7 separate regions of the Homo sapiens genome follow, and all the other regions are linked to region 4. The links are contacts of gene promoters, found by promoter capture Hi-C in blood cells and fetal thymus (Javierre and others, 2016). All regions are on one chromosome and are shown on one strand. The core of a region is centred on a gene start or on the middle of the fragment in contact, and the rest is flanking DNA. Distances in the headings are between cores, read along the strand shown.

Evidence for each region. The method cuts DNA at HindIII sites, captures the fragments that hold promoters and counts their contacts. A CHiCAGO score of 5 or more calls a contact.
Region 1: a contact is called between a fragment that was not itself captured here and the fragment with the promoter of RLIG1 in region 4, in 6 of 17 cell types (fetal thymus, non-activated CD4 T cells, activated CD4 T cells and 3 more). The highest score is 15.1, in fetal thymus.
Region 2: a contact is called between a fragment that was not itself captured here and the fragment with the promoter of RLIG1 in region 4, in 2 of 17 cell types (activated CD4 T cells and non-activated CD4 T cells). The highest score is 5.4, in activated CD4 T cells.
Region 3: a fragment that was not itself captured here is called in contact with the fragment with the promoter of RLIG1 in region 4 in 1 of 17 cell types (non-activated CD4 T cells); the score reaches 5.8 in non-activated CD4 T cells.
Region 5: a fragment that was not itself captured here is called in contact with the fragment with the promoter of RLIG1 in region 4 in 1 of 17 cell types (non-activated CD4 T cells); the score reaches 5.5 in non-activated CD4 T cells.
Region 6: a contact is called between a fragment that was not itself captured here and the fragment with the promoter of RLIG1 in region 4, in 4 of 17 cell types (non-activated CD4 T cells, activated CD4 T cells, naive CD8 T cells and 1 more). The highest score is 12.3, in non-activated CD4 T cells.
Region 7: a contact is called between a fragment that was not itself captured here and the fragment with the promoter of RLIG1 in region 4, in 3 of 17 cell types (activated CD4 T cells, non-activated CD4 T cells and fetal thymus). The highest score is 10.2, in activated CD4 T cells.

Annotation. Positions count from the first base shown.
Region 1 is chr12:95,861,027-95,863,741 of GRCh38, forward strand. It overlaps SNRPF (small nuclear ribonucleoprotein polypeptide F), which reads left to right. Exons shown (of 4, transcript NM_003095.5): 2 at 142-267. Among named protein-coding and RNA genes, the nearest start is that of SNRPF, 3.4 kb to the left of the region's middle. The HindIII fragment of the contact is 5,419 bases long and covers 1-2,715 here.
Region 2 is chr12:94,450,586-94,453,285 of GRCh38, forward strand. The region is part of intron 1 of CEP83 (centrosomal protein 83); the gene reads right to left. Among named protein-coding and RNA genes, the nearest start is that of CEP83, 7.9 kb to the right of the region's middle. The HindIII fragment of the contact is 447 bases long and covers 1,178-1,624 here.
Region 3 is chr12:95,486,841-95,489,617 of GRCh38, forward strand. The region is part of intron 4 of METAP2 (methionyl aminopeptidase 2); the gene reads left to right. Among named protein-coding and RNA genes, the nearest start is that of METAP2, 14 kb to the left of the region's middle. The HindIII fragment of the contact is 2,028 bases long and covers 433-2,460 here.
Region 4 is chr12:88,034,146-88,036,845 of GRCh38, forward strand. It overlaps RLIG1 (RNA 5'-phosphate and 3'-OH ligase 1), which reads left to right and starts at 1,391. Exons shown (of 7, transcript NM_001009894.3): 1 at 1,391-1,593. The coding sequence starts at 1,504. It overlaps LOC107984542 (a long non-coding RNA gene), which reads right to left and starts at 1,351. Exons shown (of 3, transcript XR_007063395.1): 1 at 1,269-1,351; 2 at 1-202. The HindIII fragment of the contact is 2,128 bases long and covers 1-1,945 here.
Region 5 is chr12:94,467,649-94,470,348 of GRCh38, forward strand. No RefSeq gene overlaps it. Among named protein-coding and RNA genes, the nearest start is that of CEP83-DT, 9.0 kb to the left of the region's middle. The HindIII fragment of the contact is 1,434 bases long and covers 670-2,103 here.
Region 6 is chr12:95,221,437-95,224,136 of GRCh38, forward strand. All of the region lies in intron 1 of VEZT (vezatin, adherens junctions transmembrane protein), which reads left to right. Among named protein-coding and RNA genes, the nearest start is that of VEZT, 5.0 kb to the left of the region's middle. The HindIII fragment of the contact is 875 bases long and covers 830-1,704 here.
Region 7 is chr12:95,071,297-95,074,150 of GRCh38, forward strand. It overlaps NR2C1 (nuclear receptor subfamily 2 group C member 1), which reads right to left and starts at 2,322. Exons shown (of 14, transcript NM_003297.4): 1 at 2,084-2,322. RefSeq lists a silencer at 1,740-2,019 and enhancers at 1,909-2,409, 2,100-2,419. The HindIII fragment of the contact is 306 bases long and covers 1,443-1,748 here.

The sequences.
Region 1 (2,715 bases), core at 128-2,627, 7.8 Mb after region 4:
AAGTGAAAATTATGTACTAAAATAATAAGGAGTCAAAAGTTTTCTTCATTTGCATACCACAAAATATTGGTGATTCGGTAGAAGAGAGTTGGTGGTGGGAGGAAAAATAATTAATTAGATCCTTTTTTGTTCTTTGTGCAGAGTTTACCCCTCAATCCCAAACCTTTCCTCAATGGACTAACAGGAAAGCCAGTGATGGTGAAACTTAAGTGGGGAATGGAGTACAAGGGCTATCTGGTATCTGTAGATGGCTACATGAACATGCAGGTAAGCTAAAGAGCTGTAAAGGTCATAACATTGCATTTATTTTGCTTCACCTTATTTCTCAAAGGTTTAGTCTGACTAATAAGAATACATACAATTAAATTGACAAATATACGGCAAAATTCAAAAATAAAGTCAAAGCCAGGAGGGATACTGTGATATACTAGGTACAAGACATGGACTTAAACCAGAATTCAGCTACAGATTTTATTCCTAGTAGTTAAAGTAGGAAGAGCTCAGACACTTGATTCATAATAATACCATAAGGGAAACACACTACTTTGCTGGAGAAAACAAAACATTTCTCATCATTTAGCCCTGAAAGAAAGTTTTCAAGTGAAATTATTGAGTCTTTTAATGAATGCTAAAGGCACAACACCAAAGCTATTGAGGAAATTCATTCCTTCAGGGGAAAGACAGATCTGCCAAAGGAATTGAACTGACTGTATGTCTGTCAAACGAGTTTCTGTAAATGATTCAGCCATGTGTTTTGGTGGGTTTTTTTGTAATTAATTATCTTTTTATTGTGGTAAAATATACATTACAATTTTGCCACTCTAACCATTTTTAAGTGTATAATTCAGTGGCATTAAGTACCTTCACATTGTTCTGCAGCCATCACCGTTGTCCATTTCTGGAACTTGTTTACCATCCAAAAGTGAAATTTTTTGCCCATTAAACAATAATTTTCCATTAAACAATAATTTTACAATTAAACATTAAACAATAATTTTCCATTCCTTCCTCCACCTAACTAACCCCTGGTAACCACTAGTCTACATGTCTATGAATTTGACCGTGCATAATACCTCATGTAAGTGGAATTGTGTATTATCCTTTTGTGTCTGGCTTGTTTGACTTAACGTAGTGTATTATTCAAGGTTCATCCATGTTGTAGCATGTGTCAGAATTTCCTTTTTATGACTGAATAATATTCCATTATATGGATATACCACATTCTAATCCATTTGCCTCTTGGTGGACACTGGGTTGCTTCCCTCTTTGGACTGTAGTAAATAATGCTGCTGTGAACATGGGTATACGAATGTCTGTTCCAGTCACTGCTTTCAGCTCTTTGGGGTATATACCCAGAAGTGGAATTACTGGATTACTGGTAATTCTATGTTTAATTTTTTAAGGAGGCCAAGCGTGGTGGCTCATGCCTGTAATCCCAGCACTTTGGGAGGCTGAGGCAGCAGATTGCTTGAGCCCAGGAGTTTGAGACCAGCCTGGGCAACATAGTGAAACTGCATCTCTACAAAAAAAATACAAAAACTAGCTAGGCATGATGGTGTGGGCAGCTATATTCCCAGCTACTCAGGAAGCTGAGTTGGGAGGATTACCTGAGCCTGGGGAGGTTGAAGCTGCAGTGAGCTGTGATCACTGCACTCTAGCCTGGATGACAGAGAAATTTTTTTTTTTCTTTTGAGTAACTGTCACACTATTTTCCACAGCAGCTACGTGGTTTTACATACCCACCAGCAATGCACAACGGTTCCAGTTTCTCCACATCCTCACCAACACTTGTTATTTTCTATGGGTGTTTATAAAATAGTTATTCTAATGGGTGTGAAGTGGTATCTTATTGTGGTTTTGATTTGCATTTGGCTAATGATGTTGAGCACCTTTTCATGTGTTTATTGGCCATTTGTTTATCTTTGGAGAAATGCCTGTTCATGTCTTTTGCACATTTAAAAAATTAGTTTGGGATTTTTTGTTGTTTTTTTAATGGTAGTAGTTTCCAGGCAGGTTTTTAAAGGCTATCAAGACAGGTGGTCAATCCAATCATGAATCCAAGGATTCCATACTTGTAAGCAGAGTACTAAAAGGAGTACTTAAGTAGGCAGAGAGCTATGATTTTCCTTAACTTAGGCAATTACCACCTGAGCACATGACATTAAGGCCCCCAAAGCATAGTTTGAGTGTGGAAAATTCCTTAAACAGGAGTCATTTACCAAGACCATAGAAAAATCTGGGAAGTATATGAATTGTGATGAAAATATTCTGGAAGTAGTGGTGATAGTTGCACAGGTTTTTGAATATACTGAAAACCACTGAATTGTACACTTTAAAAGGGTGAATTTTATGCTATGGAAATTAACATCTCAATAATAAAAGAATTACCACTTAATATTTGTTTTAGAATTAATATAGCTTGCTAGTGACCCTGCTAGAGTTGCAAAATGTCTGAGTAACCAACCACTTTGAGTAGTCAACCATATTGATACCAGTGTTTGAATTTGTTCACTCAGCAAATATTTATTGAATTCCATTATGTGCCTGGCACTGTGAATATAGCATTGAACAAAACAAAGTCCCTGCCCTCAACAGTTTATGGTTTAGTGGTGGGAGGTGGTAATATAATGTGATAATAGGCATGATAGATGCCATCCATGAAGAAAAGGGGGAAGACAGTATGTGCAATATTATATAGAGTAGCCTCTCTGAGGA
Region 2 (2,700 bases), core at 151-2,650, 6.4 Mb after region 4:
AAATCAAATCATGAAAACTCCATTTCCAAGAGCATCAAAATTATAACAGTCTTAGGAATAAATTTAACCAAATAAGTGCACGATTTGTACACTGAAAAGTAAAAAACATTATTAAGAGAAATGAAAGATCTAAGTAAATGGAGAGATATTACATGTTCATGGATTGGAAGACTCAAGATGGTTAAGTTAGTGATTCTTCCCATATTGATGGATAGATTCAATGCAAATCCTACAAACATCAGATGTGTTTTTGTAGAAATTAACAAGCTGATCCTAAATTGTATATGGAAATGGAAAGAGCATAGAACCAATTTTGAAAAAGAAGAAAATGTTACACTACTTATTTTGAAACTTACTATAAAACTGCAGTAATCAAGACAGAATAGTGTTGGAGTAAGGATAGGTTTATAGACATGAGTCTTGGAATAAATTCTTACATTATAGTCAACTGATATTTTACAAAGATGCCAATACAATTGAAGGGAAAAGAACAGTCTTTTTAACAAATGGTACTGGATAATTTGGCATTCACATTTTTAAAAAATGAACTTAGATCCTCTTCTTACATCAAATGCACGGTTAATTCAATATGAATCTTATATTTAAAGGAAAGAGCTCAAAGAAGACCTTTGGGAGCTCAAAGAAAAATCTTTGGGACCTTGGATTAGGCAAAAAGTTCGTATACATAACATGAAAGTACGTGCCACACACACAAAAGAAATGACTTCATTAAAAACTTTTGCACTTCAAAAGACAACAGTAAAAATATGAAAAGCCAAGACACCAACTGGGAGAAATATTTGCAAATCTTATCTCTGATATTAAAAACAATACAAACTTTCATCCAGCATATATAAAGAACTCTTACAACTCAGTAAGACCAAAAAAAAAAAAAAAAAAACCCAGCTAAAAAATGGGCAAATGCCTTAAACAGATATTCCACCAAATGGCCAATAACCACAGAAAAAGGTGTCCAACATTACTGTGCAGGGAAATGCAAATTAAAATTACAATGGGATACTACTAGATACTAACTAGAATGGCTATAATTAAAAAGATAATACCAACTGTTGGTGAGGATGTGGAGAAACTGGAATCATCATACATTGCTGGTAGGATGTAATTGGTACAGCTACTTTGGAAAACATTTTGACAGTTTCTTTAAAAGTTAAAAATAAGCTTACCATATAATTCAACAATTCCACTCCTAGGAATTTACCCAAAACAAATGAATACATATGCTCACACAAGGAATTACAGACAAATCTTCATAGCAGCATTATTCATAACAGCCAAAAACTGGAAACCATCCAATGTCTATCACCTAGTGAATGGGAAATACTATTCACTGGTTACCAGTAAATGGGAAATACTATTCACCAATACTATTCAACTGGTGAATGGAAAATACACACGAATACTATGCAACAATTAAAAAGAACAAAACATTGATATACATACATTAAATAAACCTCAAAAGCATGAAGTTAAAGAAGCCAGATGCAAAAGACTACTGTATTGATTCCATTTATATGAAATATGTAGAAAAGACAAATTTATAGTGATAGAAAGTAGATCAGTGGTTCTCTGGGGCTGTGGGAAGGAGTTACCTTAAATGCAAATAAGCTTGAGAGAATCTAGGAGACTGATAAAATGTCAGAAATTGCCTTGTGATGACAGTCGCACAACTCTATAAAGTTGCTAAAAACCATTAAATTGTACACTTACAATGAGTGGTTTTTATGGTAGGTAAAATATATCTCAATAAAGCTGTTTAAAAAGGGCTAGGTAGAAGAAAGAAGTTATCTCTTCCAAACTTTGGAAAATTTGTTGATAGTTGTAGTAATCAAGGCTGAGTTCAAAGGATGACCAAGCAAAAAGAATCCAGGTTCTTAAAGATTATCACTAAGCCACTTAATTGACAATCTTAGAACCACCTATCTCCAGACTTCTTACATGTGAGATAATACAATTTCCTTCTTAAGGCTTTAAAAAAGAAAAAGAAAAAAGAATAACGTTGCTAATTCTAAGGGACACAGGACATGTTCATTCCATTACAGAAAATTTGTAATATCATCCATAGAGGAAGATATCAAAGAAAAGGCAGGAATTTTGGTGGATCTTGAAGGATGAAAGAATATGACGGGGGATGGGGAAGGAAAAGAAGGGTATGTAGTTCAGAAGAGTCATTAATAATGGCAAGGATAAAAATCAACAATGCCCACTAAAAGTCAAGTTTACAGCTTACCTTATTTTAATCCATACATTAAGGACCAAAAAATTAAGTAACTGGTTCAAAAAGTTACGCAGCTAGTAATCTAACCTTCACTCTCAGGATCCAGGCTCCAAAGTACATACTCTTTCCTCTGTTACGCTGCTAAACAAGGACTTAAACTACCCCCATTTGCAAGTTCAGATCTTTGTAGAGGGCATCTTTATTTAGATAGGTTTACATTTATAGGACTACACACTCAATGTTTCTTGAGCAACAATTTCCATTTAATCAATAAACTAAATGTGATGTGCATTCTTTCTTTGGTTTCCAAAACGTTACCCTACTCTGGTTTTCCTACCTTCTTTCTCCCCCTTCCTATTACATGCTGGTGTTCACAAGCTCTCTTCTGATTCTACACAACTCTCACTAGGAACCTCATCTATACCTGGTATTTCAACTACCACTAACGTTGATGACTCTTCTCT
Region 3 (2,777 bases), core at 197-2,696, 7.5 Mb after region 4:
TGACTTAAATAGTCTTGGAAACAAATTCACCTGATTCTTCAAGGTGTTCTGTAAGGATACATTTAAAATGGTTAGCAGAAGTGGCATTATGAAGACATATTGAGAGCATGGAAGCTGGGGCCAAACTATCTGCATTTGAATCCCAGTTCTGACATTTATTAGCTTTGTGACTTGGGCAAGTAATTATCACATCTGTGCTTTTATTTCCTCATCCATAAAATGGGCACTCTGCAGGGTCATTGTGAGGAATGATATATGCATAGCACTTAGAAGAGTAGATGCATAGTGAACATAAAGCAAGCTAGTTCCTGTTATTCAAAGTAATAACCTGTCACCCACAATATTTATAATACCATGGACATTGATCAGTGTGTTTTACAAAGGGACTTAAGAGTATTGCTTAATCCAGTGGTTGCAGTCGTTGGTTAAGAAAGCTTCTACTGTAGCTCTTGTTTTCTTGGCCTGTAAAGACACCATTTTTTTTTTTAAAACATAGAAAAAAAGAAAGAACATACTGTTGTTACATTACCACCTGCTCCCTCATTTCCAGTTACGAATGTTCTTAGGGAATAAGTGTAAAGTTCTGGAATTGTATGACATGGGCTTCTTTTCTTTGAATTTGAAATCGTCAATTGTCCCTATCTTAAAAGCACTTATTTTTAAAATGCCACAGATACAGATAATTTTACATTAATAAATTCTTATAGTACATATGATGTGATCACATTTATTTTTAAATATAATCTCTTAATTTTTTTTTTTTTTTGCTTGTTCCCTCTTCTTTTCCTTCCTTCCAGACCCATGTTAACCACCTAGCAGGTAGCCTTCCATATTTTTTCTATGCTCATATATGTATACATCTGTCTGTTTATGTAAGGGAATGTTTGATCATTGTTTGTTTTACAAAAATGGAATCATAGGCACACTTTCCTCCACCTTTTCTCATTCAGTGCTAACTCTTGGAAGTTCCTCCAAGTCAATTAGAATAGTTCTATTATTATCTTGAATGGCTTCATAATATTCCGTGGTGTGAGTGTACCACACTTTATTCCACCATTCTTTAGCTGATGGCCATTTGCTTTGTCTGCAATAATTTTTGCCACTATAAACCATTCTGCAATAAACCTCCTTAGGTAAATAGGTAGCTGGATATGTAGGTATTTTTCTCTCTTTCTCATGTACTGGTAGTTATATTCTGAAATACGTTTTTAGGAGTGAGATTGATTAACCAAAGAATATATTAATAATTTCCAGTTCTTATACTATTAGTGATTTCGAGCATCTTTTGATCGTAGGCTTTATGATATCTTTTGCTCTTCCCAGAAGTTTTAAATTTTTAAATGCATTATGTGTCCATGTTTAATACTTCTGAGTTCCGGCCAGGCATGGTGGCTCATGCCTGTAATCCTAGCACTTTGGGAGGCTGAGGCAGGTGGATTACCTAAGGTCAGGAGTTCAAGACCAGCCTGGCCAACATGGTAAAACCCCGTCTCTACTAAAAATAAAAAAATAAAAAAAATTAGCCGGGTGCAGTGGTGCGTGCCTGTAATCCCAGCTACTCGGGGGGCTGAGGCAGGAGAATCGCTTGAACACAGGAGATGGAGGTTGCAGTGAGCTGAGATTGCACCACTGCACTACACCCTGGGTGACAGAGCGAGACTTTGTCTCACCAAAAAAAAAAAAAAAAAAAAAAAAAAAATACTTCTGAGTTCCCAGTAGTCTCTCAGATTTTCTTGAACACGTATTTTGTGTGTTATTACATCTTTAATCTGGAATTTTTTGTGTAAGGTTGGGAGCACTAATTATTTTATTTTTCTTTCCAGTGCAGAGTCAGTTTATTGTCTATTAAATAATCCCTCCTACTGAATTGAATGACCACCTTTGTCACATGCTGTATTCCCATGTATATAATGGAATCAGTTTCTGGATTATTTACTCTGCTCCACTGATCTGTTTCTTCTTAGGCTAATACTATTTTGATTTGATATCCCAAACAGTTCTTTTTAATACTTTTCTTAGCTACTCTCAGTCATATAGCCTTACACACACACACACACACAAATGTCCTTGTTAGAATTCTCATCAGAATTGCATTTATATTTATGTATTAGTTTCTGAAAATTGACAGTTTATCACCTTGTCTTATCCAATGTCATGGGATGTTTTTGATATTTTTTCACTTATTCAATTTTATTTTTTCCAGGTAGGTTCTAGCCCTTTTTAATTAAATTTGTTAGTGTTTTATGGTTTTTGTTAGTGATGTGAATTAAATATTTCAATCCCGTTTCTGTTTCTTTATACTTGCTGCTAGAGTGGAGGAAAGCCATTGATTTCTTATACTTGTTAACAGATTGTTAATACTTTTAACAATGTGAATGTTATGGAACACTTGAAGTGGTATTTAATACATGAAAAAAATGAGATTTTGTAAACTTCAAAAACTTCCTTTTCCTTACTCTAAGCTTCTATTGAAATTAAATAAGTAGAATAACTTCTGTTTTTGAAATAATAGAGGAAGATATTAATTACATGTTATAATACTTCTCAAAGTAATTTTCTTAAATATTGCATTATTGTATGTTATCCTGGAGAAATACAGAATAAGTATAAGATAGTGTGGTGTGTTTGCTTTTTAATAAATCTCAATACTTTTTACATTCATATAACCAGTTTTGACTATTTGCAAATAGATCAGATTCAGTATTCTTACAGATTTGGTATAGTTTGTATCTTTCCTTCATTGTTTTATTAATAAACTTTTATTAGAAATTGAATGA
Region 4 (2,700 bases), core at 141-2,640:
GATAGTTGTGAAAGTTGTTGTCTCTGAGATTCGTGAAACACGCCGCTTTTTAGAATGCCTCTGAAAGAACAAAGAAGTCACTGGCACTCGACTATAATATGCTAAAAAGTTTCTGGTTCCAACAGCACACAGCCAGCATCAGGTGTTTTCTTTTTTGATAAATGCAGGCGGGGTGTGATGTGGGAGAACATTTTGTGTTTTCCTGTGAGAAAAAGATAGTAGAAAAGAAAGTAAACACTTTGAAATGGCAAATCTCTTTCTTCCTCCCTCCCCTCTGAATCCAGTAATCAAAAAACTGTGAACTTTTTTTAAATTTTATTTTTTTTCACTGTCAGTATTCAATATAACTGTGAACTTTTTAAAGGAAGATGTTTTATTCTTTGAGAACCCCCTTACTAGTTAGATACCTCTAAGTGAGATATAGTTGTTTAATTTTTCCAAGGGCTAAGTCAGTAACATGCTGGACAGTTGAGTACATGCAGATAAGACAAAGAAATGAGACCTGGGCCTAGTCCAAGCCCATAAAGGATGGCAGTAAAGTCAAAATTCCCCTACAACTTCAGGCTAGGAACTACTACATTCAATGAGATGGAAAGGCTACTATTCCTAAATATTTAGTATTTATTTTATTTAGTCATTGTCCATCTTATCACTTACCCTCAAAATATTCTTTTGAGCAGTAAGTTAAGGCTGTTTTTAGCTCGCAGTTGATTGACTACCATTACTCAAGCCATTTGGGCTGTTGGAGCTCACCTTTAATTAAACAAGATTCTTATGAAAAACTTGAGAATGAAATCTGGTTGTAGGTATTCCTGTACTTTTGGATTAGTCTAAGGCTGAAATTTCGCACTCACTCCGAAAAGAACATCAGAATCATTTCGACCATGCTATGCTGCACAATAAGGAGTAGTTCAAACGACAACTTTTTTTGATCCCAGGTGTTTTATTATAGGGTTTTCTGATAGTCTTACCGGAAAGGAAGTTTTCATTCTGCTTGGGAATCTGGGGATGTCTCTAGCCATTTCTAAACTTCTACAGTGCTTCCCCCACGAACTAAAGATAACAGGCAAGCAGTTTCCATTGGAACTGTGTTAAATCGACATCTGAAATGTTCATTGCTTATAATTTGATCTTATTTAATTTCCCAAAAAATCATTAGTTACTAGGTATTGCTAAGTACCCACGTTCGGGAAACGCATCTTTTTTTTTTTTTTTTCACGGTTATTAAAACCGAGGGTGGGGGGCGGAGGACGCACGTGGGAACCCACCAGGCGCCTCAGCTTCTGCACTACAACTCCCAGAAGGCGCCGCGGCCAGGAAGCCGCTTCTGGACGGGCGTTCCCGCCCCTCGCTGGGCTTGGTAGTTGGGGCGCAGCCGCGGTGGCTGGGCGCGGAGTGTGCGTGGCCTGAGCCGTGCGGGTGACTGCTTCAGGGCTTCTCCGCGACTGGACCGGGCGCCGCTCGAAAGCACGCCCTCCATTCGCACTGCTTGTTGGGCTCATCATGAAGCGCTTGGGCTCCGTGCAGCGGAAAATGCCGTGTGTGTTTGTGACGGAGGTGAAAGAGGAGCCTTCCTCCAAAAGGGAGCATCAGGTACGGAGGAGCGCCGGGCAGGCTTGGCGGCCCGCGTGGGCTCCTCCCCGCGGCGCTGGCTCAGTGCGAACCCGGCGAGGGCGGCTGGGCGCTTTAGAACTGCCCTGCAGGCCAGGAACCTCTGTAGGTTTCCCTGGGGAGGTCTGGGGTGGGAGTTCCGTACGCCCTGAGCTCCAGGTTCTTGTACTTTTCTTAGTTGTGAGGGAGGGAATTTGCGAAAGAATTTTCCTTATCAGGAGATTCAAACTTGTCCTCGCAAGGAAATGGATAACTCACATCCACAGCATGTCCCTTCCTTTTCAGGTCAGCACCTTTTGGGGAAACCCCCTAATCAGGTAATTGCCACAGTCCAAGCTTTACTACTTTTCAAGAGTGCAGTAAGAAAGGGTGGATATTAGAAGACTTGCTTTACCTGTTCTGTCCGAACCAGTGGCGGTGTTGACAGTAGCCTAATTAGGTCACTGAAGTTCACACCTCATATTACCAGTAATTACTTAATTTATTCTAACTTTGGTGTTCTCAAGGTTTTCTGTTGCAGCAACGTGTTTTCCATAGTGTGCCCTCGGTAAATGCTAGTGAGTAACCTATATTTGGGTAATTTTTTCATATTGTACTATAAAACGTTGTAGTCTTTGATCAGTAGAATCCCCAGTGATTAGTTGGGTGCTTCCCAACTTTGCTGATTTCAAACAAAACCAACATGTCCATTGGAAATCCACCTCACTTGAGTTTCATCATTGGCACTGGCTTTCTCGTCTTCTGGACTAAAACTTGTTTAAGGCAAAGATTGCCCTGTTATCTTTAGTCCCAGCTTCTAGGACCTGGCACGTGGTAGGCACTGGATAAATATTTGTTGAATTAAAGAATGAACCCTGGAATCATTTCATGCCAGTTTTCCATTCACCTTGATGCTTTTTACCTTATAGCATCTGATCTTTTCCTGCTTTCTAGTGCTGTCACAGCTGTTACAGTTAATATTTCATGTCCTGCTCATTGCACCACCTAACTGGTCTTACTTGCCACTCAGACTGATCATCACCATGTTCTTTCCTCGTCAGAATACCACAGTTATTACTCAATGTTTGTAGCAGTAATTGGCTTTTTTTT
Region 5 (2,700 bases), core at 137-2,636, 6.4 Mb after region 4:
AGAAAATTCCAAAAGTATCATTTTGATGTATGATAACATCAAAAAGAATAAAATGCTTAGGAATTAACCAAGGAGGTGAAAGACTTACACATGCAAGCTACAAAACATTGCAAAATAAATTAAAGAAGATATAAATAAATGGAAACACATCTATGTTCATGGATTGGAGCAGTATTAAAATGTCAATACTGTATGAAACAATCAACACATTATGCAATCCTTATTAAAATCCCAATGACAATTTTTGCAGAAATGGAAAAATCATCCTAAAATTCATATGGAATCTCAAGGGAACTGAAATAGTCAAAACAATCTTGAAAAAAGAACAAGGCTCAAGTACTCACACTTACTGATTTCAAAACTTACTACAAAGCTATAGTAATTAAAACAGTGTAGTATTGGTGTAAAGACAGACATAGACCAATGAAATAGAATGGAGAGCCTAAAAATAAACTCCCTCATTTATGATCAAATAGTTTTTGATAAGGGTGCCAAGACCATTCAATGGGGAAAGGACAGTCTTTTCAACAAATAGTGCTGGGAAAACCAGACCCAGAATGAAGTTGAACCCTTACCCAACACCATATACAAAAATTAACTCAAAATGGATAAAAGACATAAACATAAGACTTAAAACTATAAAACTCTTAGAAGAAAACACAGAACAAAAGCTTCATAGCATTGGATTTGACATTGATTTCTTGGATATTAAACCAAAGGCCTAGGCAACAAAAGAAAAAATAGACAAATTTCACTTTATGAAAATTTTAAAATTTTGTATATCAGATGACACTATCAACAGAGTAAAAAGGCAAGCCACAGAACAGGAGAAAATATTTTCAAGTCATATCTGATAAGTGATTGATATTCAGAATATATAGAGAACTCCTAACAAAGAATACAATTTTAAAATGGGCAAAGGAGGCCGGGCATGGTGGCTGATGCCTGTAATCCCAGCACTTTAGGAGACCAAGGGGGGCAGATCAGTTGAACTCAAGAGTTCAAGACCAGCCTGGACAATATGGTAAAACCCCATCTCTACCAAAAATACAAAAAATTAGCCAGGCATGGTGGTGCTTGCCTATAATCCCAGCTACTCAGGAGGCTGAGATGGGAGGATCACTTGAGCCTGGGAGGCAGAGGCTGCAGTGAGCCAAGATCACACCACTGCACTCCACCCTAGGTGACAGAGCAAGACTCCATCTCTAAATAAGTAAATAGATGGCAAGGGACACGAATAGACATTTCTCCAAAGAAAATATACAAATGGCCAATAAGCATATGAAAAAATGCCCAATTTAACTAATCATTAGGATGCAAATCAAAAGTATAATGAGACACCACCTCACACTCATTAGGGTGGCTACTATTTAAAAAAAATATTAGCAAGGATGTGGAAAAATTGGAATCCTTGTGCACTGTTGATGGGAATTAAAATAGTAGAGCCATTACAGAAAACAGTATGGAGGCTCCTCAAAAAATTAAAAATAGAGTTATATAATCTAGCAATTCCATTTATGGGTATATACCTAAAATAATTGAAAATACGTCTCTCCATACTCAGAAATGGAGCTAGAAAAAAAAGAGATTTGCACACCCATGTTCACAACCAGCATTATTCACAATAGCTAAAATGTGGAAACATCACAAGTCTCCATCCACAGATAAATGAATGAGCAATATAGTATATACATACAATAGAACAGTGGTCCCCAACCTTTTTGGCACCAGTTTCGTGGAAGACAATTTTTCCACAGATTGATGGGTGGGGGGGTGGTTTCAGGATGATTCGGGCACATTACATTTGTGTATTTTATTTCTATTATGACACTGTAATATGAAATAATTATACAACTCACCATAATGTAGAATCAGTGGGAGCCCTGAGCTTGTTTTCCTGTAACTAGATGGTCCCATCTGGGGGTGATGGAAGACAGTGACAGATCATGATTCTCATAAGGAGCATACAACCTCGATCCCTCACATGCACAGTTCACAACAGGGTTCGCACTCCTATGAGAATCTAATGCCGCCGCTGATCTGACAGGACGCAGCGCTCAGGCGGTAATGTGAGCGATGGGGAATGGCTGTAAATACAAATGAAGCTTTGCTTGCTCACCTGTTGCTCCCTGCTTTGCAGCCCAGTTCCTAACAGGCCATGGAATGGTACTGGTCCATATTATTCCACTTATCTGAGATACTTAAAGGAGTCAAAAGTACAGAGACAGTAGAATGGTGTTTGCCAGGGGCTGGTGGGGTGGGGGATCTGGGGAGTTACTGCTTAATGGGTATAGTTTCAGTTTTACAAGATAAAGAGAATTCTGGAGATAGATGCTGGTGATGGTTGCACATTTATGAATGTACAGTGTTTAATACGATGGAACTGTACACTACAAAATGGTTTTTATGTTATGTGTATTTTAACACAACAAAAAAATGGAGGAAGTACTTAATATCTTTGATCATCAAGGGAATGAAAATTAAATCTACAGAGGACTTCATTTCACAGACATTCCAAGGTGCTGAAATAAAGTGTAGTAGCCCAAACATTAACAAAGATGTGAAACAGCTGGAACTTACACATTGCTGATGTGAGTGTAAAATACTTTGGAAAAGTACTTGGCAATTTCTTTTCATTGTACTTTCATCTACCTTATTCATGGCTCATCAATTTCACTTAGTTACCCAAGAGACACGAAA
Region 6 (2,700 bases), core at 17-2,516, 7.2 Mb after region 4:
CACCTGTAGTCCCAGCTACTCCAGAGGCTGAGGCATGAGAATCGCTTGAACCCAGGAGGCGGAGGTTGCTCTGGGTGACAGAGTAAGATTCCATCTCAAAAAAAAAAAATAAAGGAAATACTCTGGCCCAGTGAGGTGGCTCATGCCTGTAATCCCAGCACTTTGGGAGGCTAAGGTAGGAATATTGCTTGAAGCCAGGAGTTTAAGACCAGCCTGGTCAACATTAACAAAACCCTGCATATTAAAAAAAAAAAAGAAAAAAATTAACCAGGTGTGGTGATGCATGTCTGTAATGCCAGCTACTCCACAGCCTGAGGCAGAAGATTGCTTGAGCCCAGGAATTTGAGGCTGCAGTGAGCTACAATTCCAGCCTGGGTGACAGAGTGAGACCATATCTCTAAATAAATAAATAAATACTCAAAAATATTCAAAAAATAATACAAATAAAAAAACTATACAGGATAACAACTATTTACATAGTGTTCACATTGTATTAGGTATTACAAATAATCTAGAGATGATTTAAAATATGTGGGAGACTGTGTGTATGTTATATGCAAATACTATGCCATTTTATATAAGGGACTTGAGCATCCATGGACTGGGTATTTGCCCTAGTCCTGTGACCAATTCCCCATGAATAAAGAGACAACTGTATATACCTCATATATCTTACCTTGGGCTATATGTGGCCTCTGCACTCTTTTAATCGTGTCTTTCAATGAACAGAAGCTCCTTATTATAATCCAATTAAACCTTATTCTTTTGTGATTAGTGCTGTTAAAAAAATATTTGCCTACTCTAAGGTCACAAAGATATTTTCTTTAAAAGCTTTATTTGACATTTTCCCATTTAGATCTGTCATCCATCTGGTACTGATTTTTGTATGGTAACAAGTGAAGATCAACATTTTTTTTTCCCCGTATGGATGTCCAGTTGACCTGGCACCATTTACTGAACAGATCATTTTTTCCCCACTGAACTGTAGTGTTGCCTTTGTCATAAATCAGGGAATCTTTTATGTGTAGATCTCTTTCTGGACACTGTCTTCTTTGCCATTGATCATTTTGTCTATTCGTGTGTTAATACCACATTATTTTAATTACTATAATTTAAAAAATAGGTTTTAATATCTGATAGCATAAGACCCTTCAGCTGTATTTTTCTTCAGGATTGCCTTTGGCTATTCTTGGCCCATTATATTTCCATATAAATTTTAGAATCAGCCTGTCAGTTTTTGTAAAAAAATAAAAAATAAAAATAAAAAAACCCTACTGAGACTTTGATTGAAATTGCTTTGAAGCTATAAATTAATCTGGGGAAACTTAACATCTTTACAATCAATATTGAATCTTCCAATCCGTGAACATTTATTGCTTGCCTTCTAAATGAATCAAGCAACTTCTCATCTCGTTCTGTGCTCTAGGACTGATTTTACAAAATGAGAATTATCTGTTTCTTCAGAGTATAGCTAAATTGGCCTTTCCTGGGGAAAAGAGACTGAATGTTGTCTATCAGCTCAATTTCTTTTATGGTTATTGCTCAGGTACAATTTTCTATTTTGATAACTTTTTTATTCTGAAAGGCAGTGTAATATAGTTAAAGATATGGGCTCTGGAGCTGGATAACCTAAGAAATCCTAGGTCAGCTATTTATTAGTTATATTAGTTAATGTGACTTTGAGCAGGTTACTTAACTTGTCTAAGCTTCAGTTTTCTCCATATTAAATAAAAATAACAGTAACTATCTCGTAAGGTAGTTATGAGTACTAAATGATTTAATATAAGTGAATTACTTAGATGAGTACCTGACACATTGTAAACACTCAGTAAATGTTACCTTTTATTAAATTTTTCCAACAAATTGCTTTTTATCTAGGTTTTCAAAATTATTGATATATTCTTAGTAGTCTCTTTAGTTTCATTTATAGCACAAATTAGATCTGATTGTTGTTATGTTTTTCTTTTTGTTTTGCATAGATGTGCTGGAGTTTCAACTTACCAGATAGACTTTTCTTTTTTTTGAGACAGAGTTCCACTCTGTTAGCCTTGTCGCCCAGGCTGGAGTGCAATGGCAGGATCTTGGCTTGCTGCAACCTCTGCCTCCTGGGTTCAAGCAATTCTCCTGCCTCAGCCTCCCGAGTAGCTGGGATTACAGGCACCCATCACCATGCCCAGCTAATTTTTGTATTTCTAGTAGAGATGGGGTTTCACCATGTTGGCCAGGCTGGTCTTGAACTCCTGACCTCGGGTGATCCACCCACCTCGGCCTACCAAAGTGCTGGGATTACAGATGTGAGCCACCGTGCCTGGCCTCAGGTAGACTTTTCAAAAAACTAGTTGGTTTTGTTTGGTCAGTTCTATTGAATTTGTTTGTGGTTTTAAATTTTTTTAAAATTTCTACTTTTATCTATTTCCATTCATCTATTTGTGTTTATTTTGCTATTTTTGTTCTGTTTTTTTTAGCTTCTTGAGTTAAAAACCTAAATGCCCAAAATAACTTGTAAGGCTATAAATTTCCCTGAGTATTGCTTCAGTTGTATCACGAAAGTTTTGAAATGTAGTTTGTCTCATGGTTGTATAAGTTCCATTTTTATTTCTTATTTAATACCCAAGTATATAGTTGAGGGATTGATGTTATCATTGGTGATTATTTTTCTCCCTGTGTCCCTCAGACCCATAATTCCACCCTGATCATTAT
Region 7 (2,854 bases), core at 346-2,845, 7.0 Mb after region 4:
GGATTCAGAAATAGATTTCTGTTAACTCCTAATACTGTCTGTAAAATTTTATCTAAAGGTGCATTTTTCTAGACAAGTTCATAAAAGACTTCAAGAGGCTGTAGATGGTCTTGTCACTGAAAAACGGCAACGAATTATATTTATACTATTATTTATTGTATGCTGTTTTGTTTTTATTCCCCAAGAGTAGGGATTATACATTGTGTGGCAGACACACAGACGGTGTGTGTTTGGGGATGTTTGCTCCCTCAAAATCCTTCCTTAAGATGCGGTGCCTGTAATTCCAGCTACTCAACAGGCTGAGGCAGGAGGATAGCTTGAGGCCAGAGATCTGTCTGGATAACAAAATGAGGCCCCCCACCATTTCTATAAAACAAAACAAAAAAACCTTTCCTAGAAGAAACTAACATGCCCCTTGAAAAACTAAGATTAGCAACATTTCATAAAACCCACTTTTTTTTTTTTTTTTGAGACGGAGTTTCGCTCTTCTTGCCCAGGCTGGAGTGCAATGGCGCGATCTCAGCTCACTGCAACCTCCGCCTCCCGGGTTCAAGCAATTCTCCTGCCTCGGCCTCCGGAGTTGCTGGGATTACAGGTGTGCGCCACCACGCCCGACTAATTTTGTATTTTTAGTAGAAACGGGGTTTCTCCATGTTGGTCAGGCTGGTCTCGAACTCCCGACTTCAGATGATCCGCCCACCTCAGCCTCCCAAAGTGCTGGGATTACAGGTGTGAGCCACCGCGCCCAGCCGCGACCCACTTTTAATGATAGAAATACACATCGCTTTTTCAGATATACTAACTGGACTTAAAGCAAAGTTTAAAAACAATCATCGGCCGGGCGCGGTGGCTCACGCCTGTAATCCCAGTACTTTGGGAGGCCGAGGCGGGTGGATCAGAGGCGGGTACATCACGAGGTCAGAGTATCAAGACCATCCTGGCCAACATAGTGAAACCCCACCTCTACTAAAAATACAAAAAACAAAAACAAAAACAAAAACAAAAAAACTAGCTGGGTGTGGTGGCTCGTGTCTGTAATCCCAGCTACTCGGGAGGCTGAGACAGGAGAATCGCTTGAACCTGGAGGCGGAGGTTGCAGTGAGCCGAGATCGCGCCACCGCACTCCAGCTTGGCGACAGTGAGACTCCCTCTCCCTCTCAAAAAAAAAAAAAAAAAAAGAAAAAAAAATCGAGTATCACCAACCACACAGCAGAAATGGTTCAAAAAAGCTCAAAATCGAAGGTCCATTTACAAATTCTAGCGGTACTAAACCCTAAAGGCCGTAATTTTAGGTCTTTCTGCTTTTGCTTTCCGGTTACTTTTTTAAAGGCTGACCTACTTACTGAAGATTATGGGACAACCTGGCAACATTCGTACTGCACAAAAATGGTATCTGCCCGAGTTGGAAGAATTATTTCTTAACAAAAGAGCTATCTATCGGAAGCTTGGACATGCCCCCTGCAGTGAGAACCCTGGGGCCGTTCCATTTCTTCTGAAAAGATCCAGGCCCACAGGCAGCGACGACCCTGGCCAGATTTGCCGTGAGAGAAAAGTGAAAGTGGGGGGAGTCATTCTGTCCGTCCCGTGAAAGCACGGGAGTTAGTGACGGGATGCAGGCCGGGACTTGCGGCCACTAGCCGAGGGTCGGCCTCTCCCACGTCTCACTCGTGCCGGCGTTAGCCGTGCGCCCTGGAAGCCCCGGCGCTGCGCGCGGCTCTCCCGGGCGGGGAAAGCTGCAGCGCCGCGGAAGCTTTCCCTGCAGGTTAAAGGTCAGAGGCGCTGCGGTAAGCGCAGCTGGAAAGGGGGTTGTGTGCTCCAAGCCGCTCGCCGTCCGGCCCCGCGTCCCGCCGCCCCTGTCGCCCCCGCCTCTCCCGGGGCCCCGCGCATTTGGCGCCGCAGCTCCGCGCTCCCAGCCGAAGTCGAGCAGCCCCAAGCGGCGCTCCCAAACTGAACGGCTCCGCTGGCCGCAGGACGCCGGCCGGGGGATGCGCTGGGACCGCGTCCGTTGGCGGTTGGGGTGAAGGGCACCCCCTGGCCCCCGCCCCCGACGCGGTCGCTGGTGTCCCCACCCAGCGTTTCTTACCGGCGCTTTTGCGCCCTGCTGACTCCGGCGTCGGGCGCCGACGCGACAGTCCCGCGGCTGCCACTCGTGGATTGGGGGGCGCTCCGGGAAGAGAGGTTGAAGAAAGCCGACGGGATGTGGGATCGAGATTCACGGCGGAGAGAGCTTTCTGTGTTTGGGTATTTCTGGGGGGTCAGAGTTCGTGACCTCTTTCTCGGCTCGGCGGCGCGCTATCCCGCCAGCGCCTGCGCATTAGCAACGGGGAGAAGCGGCGAGAGGAGGTCGTGACGTTCCCAGGGTGGGGTGGAGGGATCGGAGGGCCGAGCAGCGGCTCTGTGAGTCCACTGCCCCCTTTTGGCTTGGAGGCAGAGTGCCCCGCCAGAGCTACGCGTTCCCAGCCAGGTAATTTTTGAAGCCACGTGCAAAGGTTTAAGCATCGTTTGCCAAAGGTGGGCATTAGGGGAGGTTTTGAGTCAACGTTTTAGATTTGAGTAATAAATAACCCTCTGGGTCTTAGGCATATCTGTTTCTAATTTCTGGAAAACTGGGCTCTGGGGTAGAGTCCAATCATATTTAAACTTTTTTTTTTTTGTATTACACTTTAAGTTCTAGAGTACATGTACACAACGTGCAGGTTCGTTACATATGTATACATGTGCCATGTTGGTGTGCTGCACCCATTAACTCGTCATTTACATTAGTAAGCTTTATATATAATGACAAGCTGAGGCCGACTCATGCAAATGGTAAGGCAAAGTTTCACTTATAAACTGTTGTGAGTAAAGAGACATA